5 separate regions of the Homo sapiens genome follow, and all the other regions are linked to region 2. Evidence: promoter capture Hi-C in 16 types of primary human blood cells and fetal thymus (Javierre and others, 2016). All regions are on one chromosome and are shown on one strand. Each heading gives the region's core, a stretch centred on a gene start or on the middle of the fragment in contact. The rest is flanking DNA. Distances are from core to core; before and after follow the strand shown.

What was found. Contacts are between HindIII fragments. The CHiCAGO score rates a contact against its expected background, and 5 or more counts as called.
Region 1: a fragment that was not itself captured here is called in contact with the fragment with the promoter of EPHA6 in region 2 in 1 of 17 cell types (erythroblasts); the score reaches 7.7 in erythroblasts.
Region 3: a contact is called between a fragment that was not itself captured here and the fragment with the promoter of EPHA6 in region 2, in 1 of 17 cell types (M2 macrophages). The highest score is 5.7, in M2 macrophages.
Region 4: a fragment that was not itself captured here is called in contact with the fragment with the promoter of EPHA6 in region 2 in 7 of 17 cell types (M2 macrophages, M1 macrophages, endothelial precursors and 4 more); the score reaches 24.9 in M2 macrophages.
Region 5: a contact is called between a fragment that was not itself captured here and the fragment with the promoter of EPHA6 in region 2, in 2 of 17 cell types (megakaryocytes and erythroblasts). The highest score is 15.5, in megakaryocytes.

Annotation. Positions count from the first base shown.
Region 1 is chr3:94,230,094-94,234,288 of GRCh38, forward strand. No RefSeq gene overlaps it. Among named protein-coding and RNA genes, the nearest start is that of NSUN3, 170 kb to the left of the region's middle. The HindIII fragment of the contact is 3,549 bases long and covers 938-4,195 here.
Region 2 is chr3:96,812,942-96,817,040 of GRCh38, forward strand. It overlaps EPHA6 (EPH receptor A6), which reads left to right and starts at 1,653. Exons shown (of 18, transcript NM_001080448.3): 1 at 1,653-2,067. The coding sequence starts at 1,683. It overlaps LOC124909397 (a long non-coding RNA gene), which reads right to left and starts at 1,466. Exons shown (of 2, transcript XR_007095974.1): 1 at 1,094-1,466; 2 at 1-169. RefSeq lists silencers at 489-558, 619-738. The HindIII fragment of the contact is 10,030 bases long and covers 1-4,099 here.
Region 3 is chr3:94,262,086-94,266,646 of GRCh38, forward strand. No RefSeq gene overlaps it. Among named protein-coding and RNA genes, the nearest start is that of NSUN3, 200 kb to the left of the region's middle. The HindIII fragment of the contact is 1,756 bases long and covers 1,935-3,690 here.
Region 4 is chr3:94,246,951-94,251,101 of GRCh38, forward strand. No RefSeq gene overlaps it. Among named protein-coding and RNA genes, the nearest start is that of NSUN3, 190 kb to the left of the region's middle. The HindIII fragment of the contact is 225 bases long and covers 1,746-1,970 here.
Region 5 is chr3:94,333,603-94,338,181 of GRCh38, forward strand. No RefSeq gene overlaps it. Among named protein-coding and RNA genes, the nearest start is that of NSUN3, 270 kb to the left of the region's middle. RefSeq lists an enhancer at 1-1,383. The HindIII fragment of the contact is 529 bases long and covers 1,030-1,558 here.

The DNA of each region.
Region 1 (4,195 bases), core at 1,462-3,961, 2.6 Mb before region 2:
TCCTGCCTCAGCCTCCCAACTAGCTGGGATTACAGGCACCCACCACCAGGCCCGGCTAATTTTTGTATTTTTAGTAAAGACAGGGTTTCACCATGTTGGCCAAGCTGGTCTTGAACTCCTGACCTCAGATGATCTGCCACCTCGGCCTTCCAAAGTGCTGGGATTACAGGTGTGAGCCACCATGCCCGGCTGAAATAACTGTATTTTAATTTAATGATTGAAATAGAATATATTCTTCGATATCCAAAAGTCAGTTACCTGACATTTTTCTCCTACATAATAATAACAGGTACAATTTATGGAGCCATTAGTGTGTTTCAGGTGCTATATTGAGTACTCTACAAAGACGATCTCATTTAATCCTTAATTAATTAATCATTATGATAATGATTTTATAGATGATAGAACTTAGGCTTTAAGAGTTTGAGTAATTTGACCAAGGCCCAGGCTTGCTTGTGATTTGTAAGACGTGACTTCAAGTCTTTTCTGTATTACTCCAGAAGCCATGCTCTTAATTACTGAATCTGAGTGCAACCTGATATAACACAAGATTACCAGGGGAAAATCGCTGGATCAAGACAGGAGGGTCTAAAATGGCTGCAACCTTTAAAACATTGTTTTATTTCAAAGGTAATATATAGTCATTTCTTTTTGTGTACAATTACAACAATACATGGCAAAACATGATATTTCTTCTTTCCCCCTGCTTCCATTCCCACTCCCCTCCTCAAAAGTATAATCACCATCTATAGTGTGTAGGTTGGTGTTGGTGGTAGTGACTGAAAGAAAACACAAGGGGCCCTCTGAGGTGACAGCGATGTTCTGATTTTTGACCTGAGTGCTGATTATCCAGATATGTTCATTTTGTGAAAGTATATCAGGCTATTCAATCCCGGTTTGTACGCTTTTCTGTATGTACCTAATATATTTTTTAAAAAGCTTATCAAAGAAAATGAATACCATGATACACAAGCATATCATACTGTTAGTCATCCCAACTTTCCCAATGGGAAAAGCTATGTAAAAATTAGCTTGCAAAACCACTTTCTTTCTTTATTCTTTGAGGATTGCCAATACCACATTGTAATTTCTAGAACCCACTTAAGTTATCTATTGGAAGTCTTCTACATATTTGGCAAGCTCTATACAGTGTATTTCTCCACATGAGGCTGCCCATGATTTCAGATGAATACCTAACTCAAATTATGCTTAATGTTTAATTTCAATTGAACCAAACATCAAATTTTCACAATGGGTCTTGTCAAAGGGGAATACCCTTTCCCTATTCATCTGACTTCTATGAAAAAGGATTTCATTTAAAGAAGCCCTATTCTACTCCACGAAACTCTTAGTGGCAAATTTTGGTATATGTAGTCTACCTTCTACTCACATGTCTTTTAGGATGATGACATACCTGCCAAGAGCACCTCCTCACAGTTACTCTAGGCCATGGAGATAGTCATTACTTTTGCTCTCCAACATCCCATTCTCTGGGCACATGAAAGGTTTAATTTACTGGTGGGACAATTTTATTAGTTCTGGCCACTGGATTGAGATTGAAAGTGATGTGATTCACTTCTGGAGCAGAGCACGTGATTGCCAAAAAGAGAGACTTTCCAAAACCCCGTTTATCTTTCTGTAATAGCACCGAGCCAGGTTTGAGATGGTTGTTGCTCCTTCAGACTGGTTCCTAGAGAGAAGGGGATGTGGAGCAGAATCCCAGTTGACTCGTGACGGACACATTATACGAGTAAAGAGTAAACCTTTGTGTGTCAAGGCACTGAAATGTTGAGATCCTGTGGTACTGCAGCTGACTGCTGACAGAATGCAATGAGTTAAACTTAGCAGCTGAGGCTATGTCCACGGTCAGGAGGAGAGTTGTTCAGTGCTGCCTGAACCTAGGTGGATAAATCTAATTCTGGAGTTCAAAAACTCCCTTTATTTAAAAGCTATATTCTGTAGTATAATCTTTAGATGTGATAGAGTTTTTTTTTTTTTTTTGTCTCATTTACCTTGCTCTTTTGCCTAAACAGGCAGAACGTGTAGGGAAGAGAAATATTATTTTCTGGACCTGCTCCCTTATAACTCCATCAGGTTACTGAAGGAGGTCAAATGGCCTTGGAAGGAACTGGAGAGGCAGATGGGGATGAGATCATGCATAACCCTATGGACAATGTTAAGGATTTCAACTTTAATATAAATCCATTAGGAAGTCATGGAAGGCTTTCAGGGAGATGTGTGATAAGATGTACATTTTTCAAGAAGCAGACTGATTAGTGTGTGGAGAATGCATTAGAGGGGTATGAAAATGTATATGGGAGACCATTTAGGAGGACATGGCAGAAAGTCCTGACAGGAAGATAGCTGAATAAACAAAAAGAAATTTTGGGCTGAGTGTGGTGGCTCATGCCTGTAATCACACTTTGGGAGGCTGAGGTGGGAGGATAAAGCCCAGGAGTTTGAGACCAGCCTGGGCAACATGGTGAAACCTCATCTCTACAAAAAACAAAAGAAAAAAATAGCCAGGCACGGTGGCGTGCACCTGTAGTCCCAGCTACATGGGAGGCTGAGGCTGGAGGATTGCTTTAGCCTAGGAAGTCAAGGCTGCAGTGCGTCATGATTGTGCCACTGCATTCATGGGCGACAGAGTAAGACTCTCAAAACAAACAAACAAAAAAAACAGAAAGAAAGAAATTCTGGGATGGTTAAAATGATGAAATATATGTGTCCTTCCCTCATGATCTACCTTGATCTGGGGATACATTTTAGAATATTTAGTGGAACTGATGCATGGCATAACCTTTAGGCAATACTTCAGAAGCATTAGTCCATCTGTCTCTCATATATGCTTTTGATAAGGATTATACAGAAGAGATTTTGGTTTACCCTTTTTGGTAACAGCTTTAAGTGCACAAATTCTGTATGTGCTTCAACAATTGATTGATATCTCTTCTGACATTTAACATTAATGAAGACCACATCACCACGGCCCATTCTACATCACCTGTTCAGAGCACTGCTGTGTTACGAAGTACCCTAACCACAGCCTTTCCTGTTTTAGGAGGAACTCCTGCCACACAGATTCTTCTGTCACAAGAAGCCTATGACCATGGAAAAAGAAAAAATACCCCAAACTGTTCTTAGAAGAGGAGATCCCTAATCACAGATAAAGTCAGTTTTCCTAAAGGGGTTCCTGACTGCTTGCTCAGGCCGGGAACAGGTGTATAAAATGGCAATTAAAAGGTACCAAATGGCTTGTGGAGGTGATGTTGCATGGGCCTCTGATCTCTATTTGCAACATACAAGTTAGCAAGAAAAGGAGAATCTTCTTTTCCACACAGCACACACATCTGACGCGAAGGTCATGTGATCTCTCACGGATGTGTGCCTGATGAGATTCTGTGCACAAGGCCAAGGTTTTCCTAGGAAGACAATTTGGTCATATTCCAACACTCACACGGGCAATTGATGCACAAAAGTTATACATCACAGAACACAGGTGTGATTTCAGCCTGGAAAGATTTCAAAGGATAGTTAATAGATCTTCCGTTGGGGCAATTAAAATAATTCTCAATAAGGTATTTCTTAAACATCTACTTTTGAGCTGTATAAATGCCTGGAGACTTCTGATATTAACTAGATACAGAATGTGTACCAGAGGACTAAATTTTATTTTTTAAATATGAAGGCTTAGAAATAATCCCATTAGATATTGGAGAGTCTGTATCCACAAAAAGTGAATTGTGTTTTGGGGTAGCTATTTAAAAAGCTAATGACGTTCAGGTGTGGTTGCTCATGCCTGTAATCCCAGCACTTTGGGAGACCAAGGCGGGTGGATCATGAGGTCAGGAGTTCAAGACCAGCCTGGCCAAGATGGTGAAACCCCGTCTCTACTAAAAATACAAAAATTAGCCAGGCATGGTGGCGGGTGCCTGTAATCCCCGCTACTTGGGAGGCTGAGGCAGAGAATTGCTTGAACCCGGGAGGAGGAGGTTGCAGTGAGCCAAGACGGTGCCACTGCACCCCAGCCTGGGCGACTGAGCGAGATTCCATCTCTAAAAACAAAACAAAACAAAGCTAATAACAGAGTGGAAACCATTGTGTGTTGAAGCTGCTCTATTATAAAAAATAGAGAAGAGAAAAAAATAGGGTTATCTATATAATGAGTTTCTTCTTTAAGGCAAGCATATGGCTC
Region 2 (4,099 bases), core at 403-2,902:
TCCCTCCTGTGCTTTCTGCCCACTTGGAAAATATCGTATATCCTTTACAAGACCGCTACTTTCTCTCCTCTGTTCACATTTCTCCATTACCATCCACATTTTCTCAAAACATTCCGACGGGTTTTGAAGTGGGGTTTTCAACCTCCCTCGACTGTGATAGCCGAAGTCCCTTCAAGAAAGAAAAATGATGTTGGAAATACTAGTAACAAATAAAGTATCACGGAAATCCCCACCCAAGCGATACGGTTTCCTTGACGCGCCCTTAACCAAGGCGTTAAGTTTAGCCTGACAGCATCCCTCCCTCCTTTCGGTTCCTGGCCTGATGAGCCGCCTCCACCTGCGAGCGGTGCAGGCATTTTTGTTGTCGACTAACCCCCTCTAGCGCCGAACTGGCGGCATCCGAGCCGCGGCTGCCAGGCCGGGAGAAGGCTGGGCTTGGCCGGGCTCTGCAGCGCTCCGGGCTCCGTCCCTGCCCTGGGCGCCCGCCTCCGCCGCGGGGCGAGGTGGTGGAGACCGCGGACGCCGAGGGTCCTCCCAGTCAGCACGCCGCGTTGCCCCGGCCCTGGGGCGGGGGCCGCGGAGTCCCACCAAGTGGCCCGCGCCTCGGCTTCCGGGAGACCCGAGCGCGGGGAGGGAGTGGGTGCCGCGAGGGGGCGGCTCGCGCGGGGAGAGCCGTCAGCCCACGGCGCCCCTGCGCTGCTGTGGATGTGGCCACGCGCCACTCGGCCCTTGGACTGCTAGGAGAGCGCGGCCCGACGCCACCACGCCGTGGACGCTCGGGGACCCCTGAATCCCAGCGTCAAGGCTGCGACGATGCTCGTGACCTCCACCGCGAAGTCACCTCCGCAAGGCGACGCAAGGACCTCGGCGATCCCGGGCGCCGTACACCCGCCACTTTCCAGCCTCATGTAACCCCCCCTCTGCTGCTTCCTCCCGGCGCTTTGCTTTTCTACAACTGGAAGCCGCGAAGGCGGCTACTGCGCTGAGCCGCTCGCTCTGCTGGTCAAGTTTGGGCGACCCGCGCGGAGGAGGGTCGGGCTGACTGCCGCCGCTGAGCTGTCCCCGGACGGGAGCGCCTGTCCACGGCACTCACCCCCTCCAGCGGTGGAAATGTGGAGAAGTAAGTGGGAGGCGGTGTCGGGAACTGACTCCTCTTAAAACGGTCGGCGCCGCTGCTCTGAAATGGGCGGCTAAGTGCTTGTGGGACTAAGGGCGGCCTCAGAGATGCCCGGAAAATCGCTGCCACGGCCAGAGTGCGGCGCAGACGCGGCAGAGTTGGAGGTGTCCGCGGTGCAGGCTGCTGCCCACGCCGCTCAGGCCAGGTGCTGAGGGCTCAGCCCGCGCCTCGGCCGAACCACTCTCAGCCCCGTTGAGCCACCTCGTCCGCCCGGCTTTCATCGCACCGGCCAGAGGAAAGTTCCCGCGGCCCCCACGCCTCTTCACAGCTGCAGCGCCTCCCCTGCTTTTGGCTCCGCAAGTGCCCACTTGAGTCGGGAGAGGTCCTCGGGCCGCCCCAACTGCCCGCCCCACCTGGCAGTCCGTCCCCGCCCCCGTCCTCGCGGTGAGGCGCTCCCCGCCCCCTCGCTCCCCTCCCCCAAACCACAGCCCGAGCTCGCTCTTGCGCGCGCGCGCTCTCTCCGGCCCAAGTGAATAGTCCTCGCGCAAGCGGGACACTGTGGTGGATGCAATTCCCCTCGCCTCCAGCCGCGAGGAGCTCCCCGGCGCCGCAGGCAGCGTCCTCCTCCGAAGCAGCTGCACCTGCAACTGGGCAGCCTGGACCCTCGTGCCCTGTTCCCGGGACCTCGCGCAGGGGGCGCCCCGGGACACCCCCTGCGGGCCGGGTGGAGGAGGAAGAGGAGGAGGAGGAAGAAGACGTGGACAAGGACCCCCATCCTACCCAGAACACCTGCCTGCGCTGCCGCCACTTCTCTTTAAGGGAGAGGAAAAGAGAGCCTAGGAGAACCATGGGGGGCTGCGAAGTCCGGGAATTTCTTTTGCAATTTGGTTTCTTCTTGCCTCTGCTGACAGCGTGGCCAGGCGACTGCAGTCACGTCTCCAACAACCAAGGTAAGGGACGGGGCGGAGGAGCGGGAGTGGGTGGGAGGAGGAGGGTGCTTGGAGAACCAGGGTACTGGTTGCCTCCTGCAGGTAACTTTGTACAGGGGTCAGAGTCTCCTGGCTCGCCACACGAGGGGATCGAGGATGTCCCCTTACCCTAGCGCCCTGTTTACACCGCCCGGGACGGTGACTCCACAGGCTAGGATCCGTTGTGTTTCTAAATGTCTTTAAACGGTAGCGTGAGCATCAGCTGCAGTTGGGTCCCACCGCTAGCGGCCGTGGGACCGCTCCCCGCTGCGCTGTCTCCACTGGAAGTCAGGCTCCGTGGCACAGACTTAATGGAGACTTCTGGCTCTTTGGTGGTCGCTCTTCTCAGGGGAACGTGTGGTTCTCCCACATGCCTTCTTGAAAGGCAGGGTGCTCCCGCTGTACCCCGTGACCAGTTATCAGTCTTTCCCCACCCCTCCGGTGACTGCCGCCCTCGCCCAGCCTCAGTCCCCATGCTTCATCTACCATCCAGGCCACCGAAGTAGACTTACTCGAAATTCTTCCTAGACCAGATGCTCCAGATCTGTGTAGGGGTTTCATATTCTTGCGGGCAGGGAGTAGAAAAGGGTTTAGGGTGAATTTCCAAGTTGTGAATACCCTATTCATGAAGTCAAGTCACTGACAGATTGCTTGGAGGACTTTGTTTCGGTGGGTAAAGTGGTAAAGTGAAGGTAAATAGTGGTTAAAAAGTGATGGAAAGCCCTTGGAATATTTGAGCATTTTCCCTTTTTCTATTCATACAATCTTCATGAAATATATCTCCTTGTATTTCTGCTGTGCATAAAGATCTATAAAAAGTACCACCTGCATATTCTAAGTCCTTTCAGACTAAGCATGAAACAACCATAAAAGTTTCCCAGCATGTATCTGGCTAGATATTCTCTCACTCGTGCTGTAATGACCAACCGATATGTCCCTTCAAATATTATGTGTGGTAGTCAGTTATAGTTATCATTTAACACATAAGGCATATGTTTCAGAGTCTCGAAGTAATTTGCAGGTATAAAAATGGAGGTCAGATGGCTTGAAAGTGTTCACTTTTTGTGTGAGGAGAAGGTTAAGGGAGAAGATAAACAACACAGCATTCTTCTTTGTCATCAACATATATGGCCATTTTACTTAGAAATGTTCAGAATCAGAATAAAATATAATTATTAAATTGTTCTCATTTATACAGTGGTACTTTGGCATATTTTCCTAATTATTACAGTTATTTTAAACTGACAGAATGCAATCACAAATGTGTAGGTGAATTTGGAAACCATACATAACCTTCATGGCTTTGAAGATAGATCACATAATAGATATCAGTTACAGTGTCCTGTTTTGCTGTGGTGGTATATACCATCACACTACATCCCTCATTTATTTTCAAAGACTGTGGGTATAAAATATTGAATAGGTAGTTAACTTCATTTCTGTGAAGGTAGAAGATTGTTAAAAAACGTGTAACGATTACCCTTTTTTATTATGACAAAACAATTTTTAATAATTGGAAAGTCAGACATTGATACTGTACTTTATAATAGTAAGTAAGGATACTAGAGATGAATACTTTGAGAGTCAAGTGTACTAGAAGTTTGTAACAGTTGTTCCCATGCAATAATTTCCCCAAACAATGTTTATTTATTTAAATACCTATGATGCATCAGTAACTACCCTAGGCCCAGGGGATACTAACATAAATAAAACAGATATCTGAATCTACAAATGACCCTAAAGTGCCATTCTGCCAAAATATGTCCTGTTAAAGCATGACCTTTCAGACATTCATAGTAAATTTAAAAGCATCGAGATGTTATTTATTAACCTCTTCCAGTAATTTTTATTTGCTTATCTATTTTAATGACTTTCTCATAGTATTTACAGATGTTTGACCTAGAATATATGCCAAACATATGTAATTTATTTATTTTTATTAATTAGCTAAACTTAGTGAATGAGTATTATCCAATTTTCCCATCAGTTAAATAGAAGCATTAAAGATTGTCTA
Region 3 (4,561 bases), core at 1,563-4,062, 2.5 Mb before region 2:
TTAGGCTAGAAATAGCCCAATATCTGAAACAATTTCACCAGGAATAATCAGTATAAGAGTCATTAGAAAGCAGCAGTTGTTAATAATGCCCCCATTTTTTTTTTCTTTTACGATAATGACAGGGACTCACGATGTTGCCCAGGCTGAGCTCAAAATCCTGGCCATATGTGATCCTCCCACCTTGGCCTCCCAAAGTGCTGTGATTATATGTGTGAGCCACCACACTTGGCCTGACCACACTTTTTTTTTTTTTTAAAAACAGCAAAGCCCTTTTCTTTCTGAGCAGTGATTTTGAAAATTACTAAAATTCTTATGTAAAAAATTTCTAAAACAAAAATTTCCATAAGAATATCATCAAAATATTATTCTTTGCACTGTATACCATTCCTCTATCAACTAGGTATCCAGTCATATATTTTGGATTTGAATTTATCTTATGGGAGCTGGATGGTACATATATTGGCAACACAATCTTCCAGATCTAGTTAACTTCTTAAATGCCGTTGGCTTCACAGTGCTTCAGTCAGGAAAAAAATGAATAATGTCATCCCCTGGGAATGTAAGGAAAGAGTCCTATTGAGGATATTGGTGGAGCTGTTCGGCTTCTTCAGAGGAAAGACTCTATACTCATTGTGGTGGCTGCTTTTCTCCAAGCTTGTGATTTGAGAGGTTGACCTAGCAACAATCTGAATAGCAAAGCATGTTTTTTCTTGGTGCCCATTTTCCTGCAAAAGCATATTTTTGATTGGACTGCAGTCGAAAGCATAATTAAATGTTACAGAGACTCTCAGAACTTTAAACCATTCTCTTTTTCCCTTTTAATTTGACAACACAAACAAGTCTAATGTTTCATTTTTCTGGCTCCAGATGTCCATTGTGAATGTAAATGATGAGCCAGTAGAGCTGATGCTTCCACAGAACTGATATTCAGAGTAAAAATGAATCGTTGCACATCCTGCAGGTGCCTCTGCTGAGGGAATCTTTTCACTCCGAAGACATTTAAGAGATAGAATATGCAGCTGGTCAAAGAAAGCCTTTAGGCTATTTCAAAGTTTCTATACAAAATAAAATGCCTCATAAAGTTTGCTTGAAAGTGAAATTTTATAAAATACGGTTATATACACTCCTTCATTTTTATTCCAATAATTCCAAGCTTTCTTTTTAAGGCTGAAAATACTATTTTTAAGAATCAAATAAACACCAATATTTGGAGTTCTGATAGAGAGAAGAACTTCACATTTGGCTTGCATTTGGCACTTAATTTGGAGGTTGTATTCAAGTTAACAACAACAACAGCAAAAATACAATGATTCTTCTATATTGTCAATAATTACTGCTCGCAGCTTGATTATTTTGCAATTATCAAGATATCGGATGCCACACATATGTGTCAAAGCCTTTCAAAGGACATCTAATGAGAACCATAGATGAAGATGGTATTGATGTCTGACTGGGGAGAGAGCTGTTCATGTACTTAGCCTTTGAACTACAACTCACCATCTAATTTTCTCAATCAAGGTCTGAGACTTGAAAGAATCTATGGAAGAATCTAGATCATCTACTGAAGTACTTATGACTTCAGAATTTAGAGTCAGAAAACATATCCTGAGCATGTTCCCTCTCCTGCTTCTCAGAAGCCCTGAACCATTAGACTGCATGAGTCTGCCCACTTTCTCCTGTGATGATTCAACTGGGTTCCTCTTCCCTCAAAGATCCCTGCATTCTAAAACAATTTTTCTGCCTTCCTAACACTCTGCTAAAAAAACCGATTCTTTTAGCACAGCTGACCACAGCAAGAAGAAAGCAAGCAGATGGAGTTAATTCATACTAAGATGAAAAAGTCTGCTAGCCTCCACAGGGTATTTGCCTCATAAAAAAGATTGCTTGAGAAGTTAAGTTTATCTCTAACTTGCAGAACCTAAGAAATGAAGTAAAGCTTCTCAACTGTGGGGAAGAAATGTGATCTCCTGTATTTTTTGGTCAGTATTTGGGTTATAAGACATGAGAAAAGAGATACACAAAGTCATCTCATGCTGACCAAAACAAAAACAAAACAAAACAAAAAACAATGTAGATTGAACTATGATTGAATGATTAATGCATCAAAGGAAAAAAGTATCAATCAGACATTGGTCATTCACTCTTGGCCATATTGAAAAGGGTATAGAGGCACACTTTGGAAAAGTCTATCTTAACATAGTTCAGAGAAGAGAGTCTTAGATTACAGTAAACTGGCAAGAAGATGCTATATGAAGACATCTATTTTACATTACATGTTTCATTCACTTAATTAATGTTCGGTTCTGTTTCTAAGTTTTTTAAGCAAACTTCTGGTTATTATTTCATTCTCAGTTAGTTCTGTCTACAGAGAAGTATGCTTGTCACATGGGCTTGAAGAATTTGAGACCCATACTAGCTATCTTTTAACTAGCTTTTTTTTTTTTTTCTTTTAACAGTCAGGGTAGGATCAGAGAAGCAGAACCACTAAGATTTTTTTATACAGATTGTACCTTATGCAATCATGGGAGATGGTTAATCAGCCTCTGCAAGGCTGTTGCCTTTGCATCTTTTCTGGAGCTTAAAGTCTGCAGGACTTTCAAGAAAAGAAGACAGATTTGGAGTGGGGAGAGAAAGGAAAACTGTAACCCATTGGCTCAAGCTGCAGTCCAAGAGGATGGATTGAAACCCTGGTCTCACTCTGCCTCCAACTTCAATGGTGCTGGTGGCCTGCAGGAGAAATTGATGCCCTTTGTCATAGAGCTTAACACACACATGGGCCAAGAAGACAGAGAACCTGAAGGACAACTGAGGGTAGGTTGGAGCAGCTGCAGGGCTAGGTGTTGCCCCATGTTAATCCAGTGTCAGCTGAGGTGTCAATGAGCATGGGTTGGTAGAGTGCCTGGTGCCCCTGTACCAGCCTGAGGATGAAAACAATATGGCCACTGCTTCAGTCTAACTTGCAAAACTTATGCAAAAGGGCTCTCCTGGACCACTGGGAAGTTAATTATGGGAAATGTAGTTCTAAGTTAGCTAAATTGCTATGGTTCAAATCCTTTGCATAAAAAACACATTGCTATCCAACGTGTTATCCAATTCTGGATTTACAAATTCCTTTTATAAACTTGCTAATAAGAATTTAGCCCTGAAAGATGGATTTACTCTTGATGTCCTGACAAAATAAGGGACGTGGCTGAGGGCCAGAGCCTGGAGAGAAGTTTATCCTACAAAGCTAATGAGTGACACCCTGTCTGTGTGCTCTCTTATCCCACAGCCTACTTCATCCCCTTGGCATTGCCCAAGCAATCTCTCATCATTCTTCTAGCATTGGCCTGGTAATACTCTCTTTCTTTTAGAATTTCAATACTTGGAATGTCTCAAATTGCCATCTCAGAGGTTACCATGGGCAGTGATTTTTCTTTTTCTTTCTGGTGTCCAGAAGCAGAAAGTGAAAATAACAGTTTTTCTGTCTCTACCTTTCCATTCTGCTCTGCTAATTATCAAAACAGTTCTTCCATCATTTACCCTTATACTTCTTTTTCTATCAAACTTCTATAGTAAGCCAAATATCCAAAAATTGTGTACAGATATAGCTGTAGAAACACTTTGCTAGATATATTGACATAGATGATCTTACTAGTGTCACGCAGCACTCTCTCAATCTCATATGAGGACATTGGTTTCATCTTCTAAAGCTTCTAGACTTGGTACTCTTGTAAGAAAATTCAGGTTTAACCTAAATGTAATAGGTTGAACTTGATTGTATTGACAGGTTGATATTATACCCCATTCAGTGATTTCAAGCAGAGCATGGGATCGGGTGGAAGAGGGAAAAGAGTGTTGAACCAATACTAATCCCTCATTACCTTTTACAAATCCTCTTTTCCAGAACTAGATTATTTAGAAAAAATGTGAATAACAATGTATTAGGCTAGAAATTCTTCCACATTCTCCAGCTTTCTTCCTCTTGTGGTCTTCAGTAAGCTATTAAACTTAACAAAATGCTAGAAGGAAAATACTAGTAAAACAGCTTACTTTTAAAAGGATGAATTGCATTGATGTAGGAGTTATTTTTCCCTTGTACGCAATGATTTTGGCCCATAATTGCCCAAAATTTCTGAAGCTACGTTATCTTGTCAAATGTAGTCTACTTCAGCATTACCTGACACCTCAAGTGTTCTAACACCAGACTGTCAATGACGTCGGGTGAAGGACCATTGCCAGGGAAGATAACTTGAAGTATTGGTGAGAAGCGGGTGTCAGGAAGAGGAATGAGCAGTCCATAAGCTAGACACAGCTGCTGGAGAAAGAACTCCACCTCTTGCAAGTGTGTAAGAGATGTGCAAAGAGAGAAGGCAGGGCAAGGCAATTAGGTGGAAGCCCCAATGCAAAGGGCCAAAGATGACTTTTATTCTGAGCTGCCCCTTTGCTTTAGCCAGGAAAAGCTAAAGCTTACTGATTAACTCAGAAACTTCTCCAGGGTGGCTAGACTGGAGCATGTGGGTGGAATTAAATAGAGGATTTCTGGGCAAAATGAAAGTGGGGAGGAAAAATGAAAGGACAG
Region 4 (4,151 bases), core at 608-3,107, 2.6 Mb before region 2:
CACTCCTTCAGTGAAGGATGGTCCAAGTTTTCCCTTAGAATTGCATCTTTTTAGTTCATGCTCATATGCTCAGCTGTTCTTTCCAGAGTGTGACCCAGTTGGCTTGAAAGAGCATCCAACTTCAGCTACATGTTGTGTGAGAACTAAGCCTCACCATATAACCTCTTAGATAGTTGTAGTCAAGTCTGGGTCATCAATTCAGATTCCCTGGTCCTTAACCATAAGTGCTTCTTAGAGGATCCTAGAATCTTTTTCTGCCAAAAATCTTTAGTGATTGGAAGACTTGATGCTGCCTGAAAACTTCTAGTTTCTGACATAGAGGGGAAGGCAGAAATTTGCTTCACATAGAAGATATGAGATTTGGAAAGTGAAAGAAACGCGGAAATCCATTATTGCTCCTCTTGGCAGTAGTGATCAGAAATGTGGGCTTCAAGTGATGTCGGATTTTGCAGGGGCTTCCAGATATGGCCCTGGGAATGATCCACCTCAGTGCTAGAGGCAGCTCTGATTGTTGTCAGTGTCTTCCTGTGGTTACTGCAAATTTCTGAATGTTTGAGAGGTAATGGCCATCACTGATAGCAAGAGTCTGTATTTCCGGACCTCTATTCCTCCAGCATGTCTGATAGTTTGATAAGCAAGAATTAATACTGTTTGTATTAATTCTCCTTCCGCTTGAAATACTAGAGTGATCAAATACTAATTGCTAATGCACTTATCTTCTACTAATAAATAAGCTCATCTGCTAGAAGGGTATTTGAGGGACATCTTTACCAAGTCATAAAAATATATTGTTATACATTCCTCTCAAAGCTTTGAGTGCCTGTTTGCTTACACTGAGATCATGGTAACTTTCAAATGGAAGCTCCTTTTCGGGGTATGGTTGTGGGCTGGAAGTTGAGCTCCACTGAATCAAGCGTCCTCCTCCACAAAGAAGTGTGGGGGAAATCCAAAAGTCAAATGTAAATTATTTGAGGACAATTTTTCTTCTCCAAAAGGACCATGAAATATGGTTTAAAAAATCAAATTCTGTAAATAAATGAAAAAAGAAAACATTTGATATTTTATCTGGAAATCAGAGTTGTAGTGGTAGGCACTATTTAAATAGTATAGCAACCAGAACTGAGGTTCAGTGTATCCCAGTCTATCTAATTTTAAATTATTATTGTCCACACTTTCATCCTATGAAAACACTAGAAAACAGTTTTTGGCCTCCTTCCCTCCAAGGAAGCTTGGTGATTAAATTTCTCTACCCGTTATGAAAAACAACTCTCTTTAACATTAAGTATGCTAACAAATTTCTTAGTGACTCAGCCATTATTTTCAATTCTGCTTATTTCCATCTCACTGGAAGTTTAGACTAAAAGTCTATGAAAGAAGAAAATGCATAATTCTAAGAACATAACTTTGTCACATCAAGTCTCTTTGACATATGCATAAATTTGTAAATTACTATATATTGAAAGATATCCATCAAGGTCAGATAATTTAACCTTTCAGAATATTCTTTTCAAAGCTGTTTAAAGTATGATTTATTTCTTATTATTTTAATGGAGCCTGTTGGTAGATTGTGAAACAATCCTCTGATTGGCCCACATAGATTCTGACCTCAAATCATTAAAAGGTTATTTTATAAAGGCTCATGCAAAGGCCAGTTGTTTGGAACTTGTACAATATTTTTCCATAGAAGTATAATTTATTTTATGTAGTATTTATCTTCCACCTACTCTAGAAAAAAGATTAGAAGAAGCTTATGTAATTAAGTGTAAAGTGAAATAATAAAACTTTAAAATTGGAAGGAGCAGAGGCATAGATGTCTCTGAAGACCCAAGCGTTTTTTTGTGTGTTTGTTTTTTGTTTGTTTGTTTATAAAAGGGAGCTAGGTCAGTATAAGTAAAAGAGAAATCAGTATCACATAGATCTATGTTCTAATCTTTCTGCTAGAAAAAAAGCTACTTGTGTGAACTTGACCAAGCTTCTGAATCTCAGTTTTCACATCTATTAAATGGTTATAAACTGTAAATAGTTTGGCCAGTGAATATGTTCCCTGACAAGTCCTTAACAGAAGATTTCTCCCTGAGACCTCCTTCGCTATTCCCTCTGGGATCTGTGGCTGGATAGAAACGAGGGTGATTCTGAAAAGTTCTGCCTGCAGAGCAGCAATCTCTCTACTCCTATTTTTGTTGGACTAGCAGGACCAGTTGCCCAGCCTCTGCCTGTGCTGGTGCTGAGCTCTTCTGTTGTGCTGACCTCCAGGCCACCCGTAGACCTCTGCCATGCTGCTGTCAACCTCCCATACCCCATTGACTCTTACTAATCTCTTCAACTAGCCACTGGCCAGGAAATCTTCAGCTGACATTTTAATTGTAAAGCTGTTACATCGCTAGTGATACTGACTACCTCTTAATATTGCACCTTCTCTTTTCCAGAGGACAGAACTTTTAGAAGGTTAAAGTTAAGGGATGATCAACCCTAGCAGGATCTTCACCTGGAACTGCTAGTTCCTCTGCAATTCCCCACTCTGCTGCTCCATCTGTACCACTCTTCACTTACAGTAGGTTTTTCTCTGGATTCCAGGCGTTCTCTCTATTCTAATACAACTTTGGGGAAGTTTCAGGCCTCAGACAAGATAGTACTTCAATTGCAACACAAGTTCAAATTCACTCCCATCAATCCCTGGATCCCAACCAAGAGCAGGAATGGAGCTGAGTAACTATTTCAAATTCCGCCAATAAGACTTTACACAGAGCAGACCACCAGGGGGCAGTGTTGCCTTACCTCGCATTCCAGCCTAACATGGGGAATGGAGCCCCAAACCTTTCGTTGCATTCAAGTTTAGATAAGCTGTGAAGCCTAAATGAGATAATATAATAGCTGCAACTGTTGTTTCTTAGATGCTTTCTAGGGGACAAGTATTTTGTCTATAATTTCATTTAATTTTAATGTGTCTCAGATAACGTTTGTGGGTTTTTCTACACATTGAGATTTAGATGACATTGCTTCCATGACTCTTCCCTGCAAGTGCTGTTCATTTCTCTGAGTTTAATGTTCATGGTTTCTTCTGCCCATGGCTCCTGAAATTGTACATCATGCCTCTGTTTGCACAAATCAATTAGTTTTTAAAATAAGTTTCCATGGGAAATCCATTCCATTCATACTAAGTCCTTCAGGAAATTCACAAGAAGGGATCAAGTTATCTTTTTATGTCCCTCTGAGCTCTTTATTCTGCTTTTAACCTCTTCCGCAGAACCAAATTCCTCCCCTTCTAACTCATAACAAGCCAATGAATCTCTTAGTTGTTTTAGCTTCTTCCTCACCCGAGTTACTTATTCTCAAACAATGGGGAAGAGAGAAATTTGAAAGTGCAGTCTTGGTGAGCTCTTTGTCAATGAAATGTTTATAATTTAGGAAATTTGAGCATATGCAAAAAGGCTCTTATACTAATCAGAATTTCATAGGGTTGTTCTCCAGCAGTTACATGTGGAGTGGGTTAATTATGAACTAGTGCCTAAAAAAGTTTAGCACACCAAGAAGATATCAGAAATATCTCAAATGAATATTAATGTTTGAAAATGTCTATGTAATTGAAATCAATTTAAATGTAGAAATAATTTGAAGAATGCTAATGCAATGGCAGAGTCCCACAGATAAATATGTCAAAACACATTAGGATTTCTCTGAGGCTATGGCAGAAACCTGCATTGCGATCAGACTGTGGGATACACAGATTTGATTCTGTTTTTTTCTGATTTAAGTCTACTTTTTTGGGTTTTCTTATTTGCATCATTAGTCACAAGATTTTCGTATAGGGGCAAAGAAATTTTACTTCTCCCCTCTGAAGGTTTGAGTCTGTTGAAAAGAACTGACAATAGACAAATTAATAGGAGAAAAGGCATCCACATGTATTAACACTCATAAACATGAGAGTCATACAAAATATGAGACACAAAGAAGGGCCAGATGGTTGAGGCTTAGATACCCCTCTTCATAGGGGAGAGGGAAATGGGGGATGCAGGGAATTGTGAGGAATAGTAAACGATTTTCAGGGGAAATGAATAGGCTCAAAGAGCAGACAGTCGTTTGTAAATGATTCTTTTAGGAAACTGAATGGGACTAGCCAGTTACAGGAAGGTGAGAGGCTGAACTGTGTCATC
Region 5 (4,579 bases), core at 44-2,543, 2.5 Mb before region 2:
GTACATATTCAGTCTCCCCAAACAGTATGCACTTCTCAAATACCCATGGTGACTGGCTCCAATTCCATCTGGTTGTTTCTGATTATTTCATTACAGCTGTTCAGATTTATAAACCCAGCAATTAAAAGAACTTAGACATGTTAATACTTATGTAGCCCTTAACCACCATGCCTCAAAAGAAAAATTGGGAAAGGTTTTACAACACATTGTTTCATTGAAGGGACTGTTATTAGTTTAATGAAACATGCTACACATGCACATTATTTTTAAAGATTTCTTTCTTTCTTTTTAGAGTTGTCAAGCCTTCATTTACAAATAGAAGATTAGCTATAGTTTATTTTAATTGTTCCAAATTTTACAATGGTGAAAAGCAACAATACAAATCCCAGATTTTTTTTCCCCTAGCAATGTTTCTATGGGAAGATTAAGAGTGTCTGCAACTTGTTCTAGAGTAATAATTTCAATTGGCTCAAGTCCATTAACTGCAGGGAAAAACACCTGGCAAGGCGGTTGGTAGCAGCCCATTCTTGTTAACCTTTCAGCCTTCACAATAACTATCAGCAGGCACTGAATCAGGGCCTCTAATAAACTGGCATTAAAGCTGCTGACAGCTAATAACTTTTTATGGGTTTCCAGAACTAAATAAAAGAAAATTCTGATTAATTAGAATCAAACAATTTTCAAATTCCATAACCCCAGAATTAAAAAAAATTTAGACGTATAAAATAAAGTAAATATTAATACGGCCTTTCAGAAGACATTTTCAGCATAAACAAAATAGATTTTAAAGTACATTATTTTAGCTATTTTACTCCAGTTTAACTTTCTGCTACCATGCTCTTTTTTTTTAGTAAAAGAGAAAATAGCTAAGAAATTGAAAACTTAGCATACCAACTATAGAAATAAAGTTTTAACTGAATTATTTCAACATGTCAAATAATTTTGCAAGTGAATTATAGAAACTCTTTAATCTTCAATAATTGTGGAAGAGTAGAACTCAGGAGAGACATTTTAAGGAGAGTATTTAAAAGCTTCACACACATCGATTTTCTTCTTTTTGCCTTCCTATAAGAAAACCAATCTGCAGGTGGACTGTATCTGTAACCTGTTCACCACTGGTTAGGTGGAAACTAAGGTGGTCTTGAGGAGTTGCAGGAGGAAACCAGAGTCGAAAAGTTACGGAAACACTATGGTTCTTTAAGGAAATAGACATAATTTATTTTCTTTCTTGAGCCAGATAGCTGATGTTCAGTTGCTAGATGCAACTCTGGTAGAAAGAAGGCATGGGTAGAGATTGAGTAGGGAGTCAGTTTATATCACTGACGACTTTAGACAAAAACAATTGAGAACCATCATTGTACCAGAATGGAATGTGCGAGGTTTCTTAGGGGCTAGATTCAGGTAACTATGGTGATAGGAGGATAGAGAAGCTCTACCTATACCCATGGCTCAGCTCCTGTAGATGGAAGGAAATAAAGTTGTTTCTGAGAATGGAGAGACACCTGAGACAGTGAGTGAAGACGCAATACAGTGAGGTGAAAACTTCTCCTAACTTCTAAGCTTATAACACAACCTTGTAGGGTGTGGCGAAAACCATAGATGCTATGGTTTGAATGTTTGTCTCCTTCCAAACTCATGTTGAAATTTAATTGCCATTGTAACAGTATTAAATGATGGGACTCTTAAAAGGTGATTAGGCTATGAAGGCTCTACCGTAAAGAATGGATTCATGCTGTTATGGAAGTGGGCTCATTATTATGCAAGTAGATTCTTTATAAAACTATAATTTTGTCCCCCTTTTCTATCTCTCACCCTCCTTTTGTCCTTCTCTTATGTTATGACACAGCAAGAAGTCCCTCACCAGATGCTGGTACTTTGATCTTAGACTTCTCAGGCTCCAGAACTATGAGAAATAAATTTCTGTTTATTGTAAATTAACCAGTCTGTGATATTTTGTTATAACAGCACATGACCGACTAAGACAGTACCCATGGCTGTTTGCATGAAGGAGTTAAGATTCTGTAGAAACAAATTCAAGTAAATCTTCACCTTTTTAGCATGGAGGGAGCTTTGGAATAAGGGTTTTTGTTAAAGAATGCAAGTATTTGCCAGTGGGAGAAATGTAGTAGGATAATACTTTGAGATATGGACTGTAGTTCTTTATAATCTTTCTTCTAGAGAAGGTAGCTAAAATATTCCACATTTATGTTTCATGGAATAAATATGACCAGAATCAGAAACAGAGAGAGAGAGAAAAAAAAAAACCCAACTTTTGAAAGGCCATTTGAAAAGACTTTTAAAACTCCTAGTTGGGTGAAAGACTTTGGAATTTCTAAAGCTTAAAGTTAAAATAAACAATCAAGTTGGAAAAACTCATGATCAGAGAGAATTAGTATTTCCCAACCCTAGTGACTCAATAAAATTTGCTTGGACTGAGAAGAAAGAAGTAATCAGAAGATAAGTAAGAGCGTTTATGTATGGTAGAGCTGCTATGCTCTGCCCCTCCATACTTGCTTGAAAACTGGAAAGGCACAGACAAATCCCAGATTTGAAAGCAAGATCCATTCTCTTCTTCCCAGTGAATAACCAAGAAAATCCCAAGACCAGACCTCCCCCTGGTGCCCAGTATCATGTGAGAGCAAAAGGAAGGCTTCAGTGTCATGTCTGAAATGAGAGAGCGTAGAGCAGCCTCACAGAATTTCTCACAACTTACAGCAGCAATGGAAAGCAGCTGGTTGTTTTCTCTCCTTCTGAGATGTTGAAAACATCAGAGACAGAGAGAGAGAGAGAGAGAGAGAGAGAAACCGAGACAGAGAGTGCACCACACCTGGAGAGTTCCTACAGGAACTCTTGGGAAAACTTGAAGCCAACTTACATAGGTCAGTAACTGTTAGGTCCTAACATGTTTATCTCAGAGGATGCAGCAGGAGGAGCTCTTGAATAAGGAAAAATACCATCTCCTCATTCCCTTATATTGAGGCATCACCTAAGAACCCTCGATTTATGACAAAACCCCTGGAACAAAGGTGATTATCTTGACTTAAGATTTCATTTTGATCAAATGGGAACCAAAAATACAAAATTAACTTAAGATATAGGAAAACAAACAAATTAACACTTTTTGCCCACCTGAGTTTTGTGGAATGACATTCATACCCATTACAGTTTATGTCTTAGTCCATTTTCTGCTGCTATAACAGAATACCACACACTCAGTAATTTATAAATAAAAGAGACTTATTTGGCTTATGGTTTTTGGGACTGGGAAGTCCAAGATCAAGGGGCTGCATCTGGTGAGGGCCTCCTTGCTGTTTCATAACATGATGAAAGATATCACATGGTGAGAAAGGGCTAGAGAGGCAAAAGTACTTGAGACAGATAGAGGAAAAGGAGGGCAAACTTCTGAGATAATGGCATTAATCCATTTATGAGGGCAGAGGTTTCATGATCTAATCACTCCCTAAAAGTTTTACCTATTAATACCATCACAATGGCAATTAAAGTTCAGTGTTGGTTTTGGAGGAGCCATTTAAACCCTATCAATTTGTATTTAAGTTATTTGTGTGCCAGCTTTAATAAATCCTTTTAGATGGTGAATTTCTATAGGACATTGGTTGCCTCTCTTTTTCTGATTTCCAGGCATCTTAAAAATAGTAGGAACTTAATATATATTTGTTCAATTGTATTGAATAGCTTAATCCAAAACATTCCCACTAGTAAATTGTCTTGGTAACCACCTTATTCATATATTATTATTAGCCCTGGTGCTCAAGTACTTTTACTCATTCAATGAGTCATCTGATATAACCAACTACAATGAACATCAGCTAATACAAAGAAGGCATAATAGAGAAGCAAACCATAAGGCCATCATGACTTGAGCACATAGAGAACCAGTTTCAACAACTGTTGTCACTACTTCTTGAAGTACTATCTTCACTTGGTTTCTAAAACACTCTATTCATCTAGTTTTCCTTCTATTTGTCTAATCCTACTCAATCTCTTTGCTGACATCTCCTTCCTTGGTCTTATTCAATCATTAGGCTATAAAATTCTTCTGTACACTAAAGACTCACACATTTATATACACATCTATCTGCTCCACACTTCTCTCTTTAGCTCCAGCTGCCTACTTGACCACTGTATCTAGGTGTCTAACAGGCTTTTAAAACTTAACATGTTTAAACTTGAGCTCTATATTCTCCCCAAAGCCAATGCCTTTATCAGTTTTTTTCCCATATTAGTAAATGACAATTTTCTATTTCCAGTATCTTAGGCCAAAATCCCTGTTGTCATCCTGGACTACTAATTTTCTCCTGGACCTCACATCCAAGTCCTCAGGGAAACCTAGCAGCTGAACCTTTAACTATATCCAGGATCTGACCATTCTCAATACATCTACTGCTGTCACCCAGGTCTAAGCCATCATCTCTTGCCTCCTATCTGACCTCTGTTTTTACCATTGCGCTTCTATAGCCTTGCAATGGACTCAATGTTTATGTTCCCCCAACATTCGCATGTTGAAATTCTTACCCATAGGTGATGGTATTAGTAAGTGAGGCCTCTGGTAGATGATTAG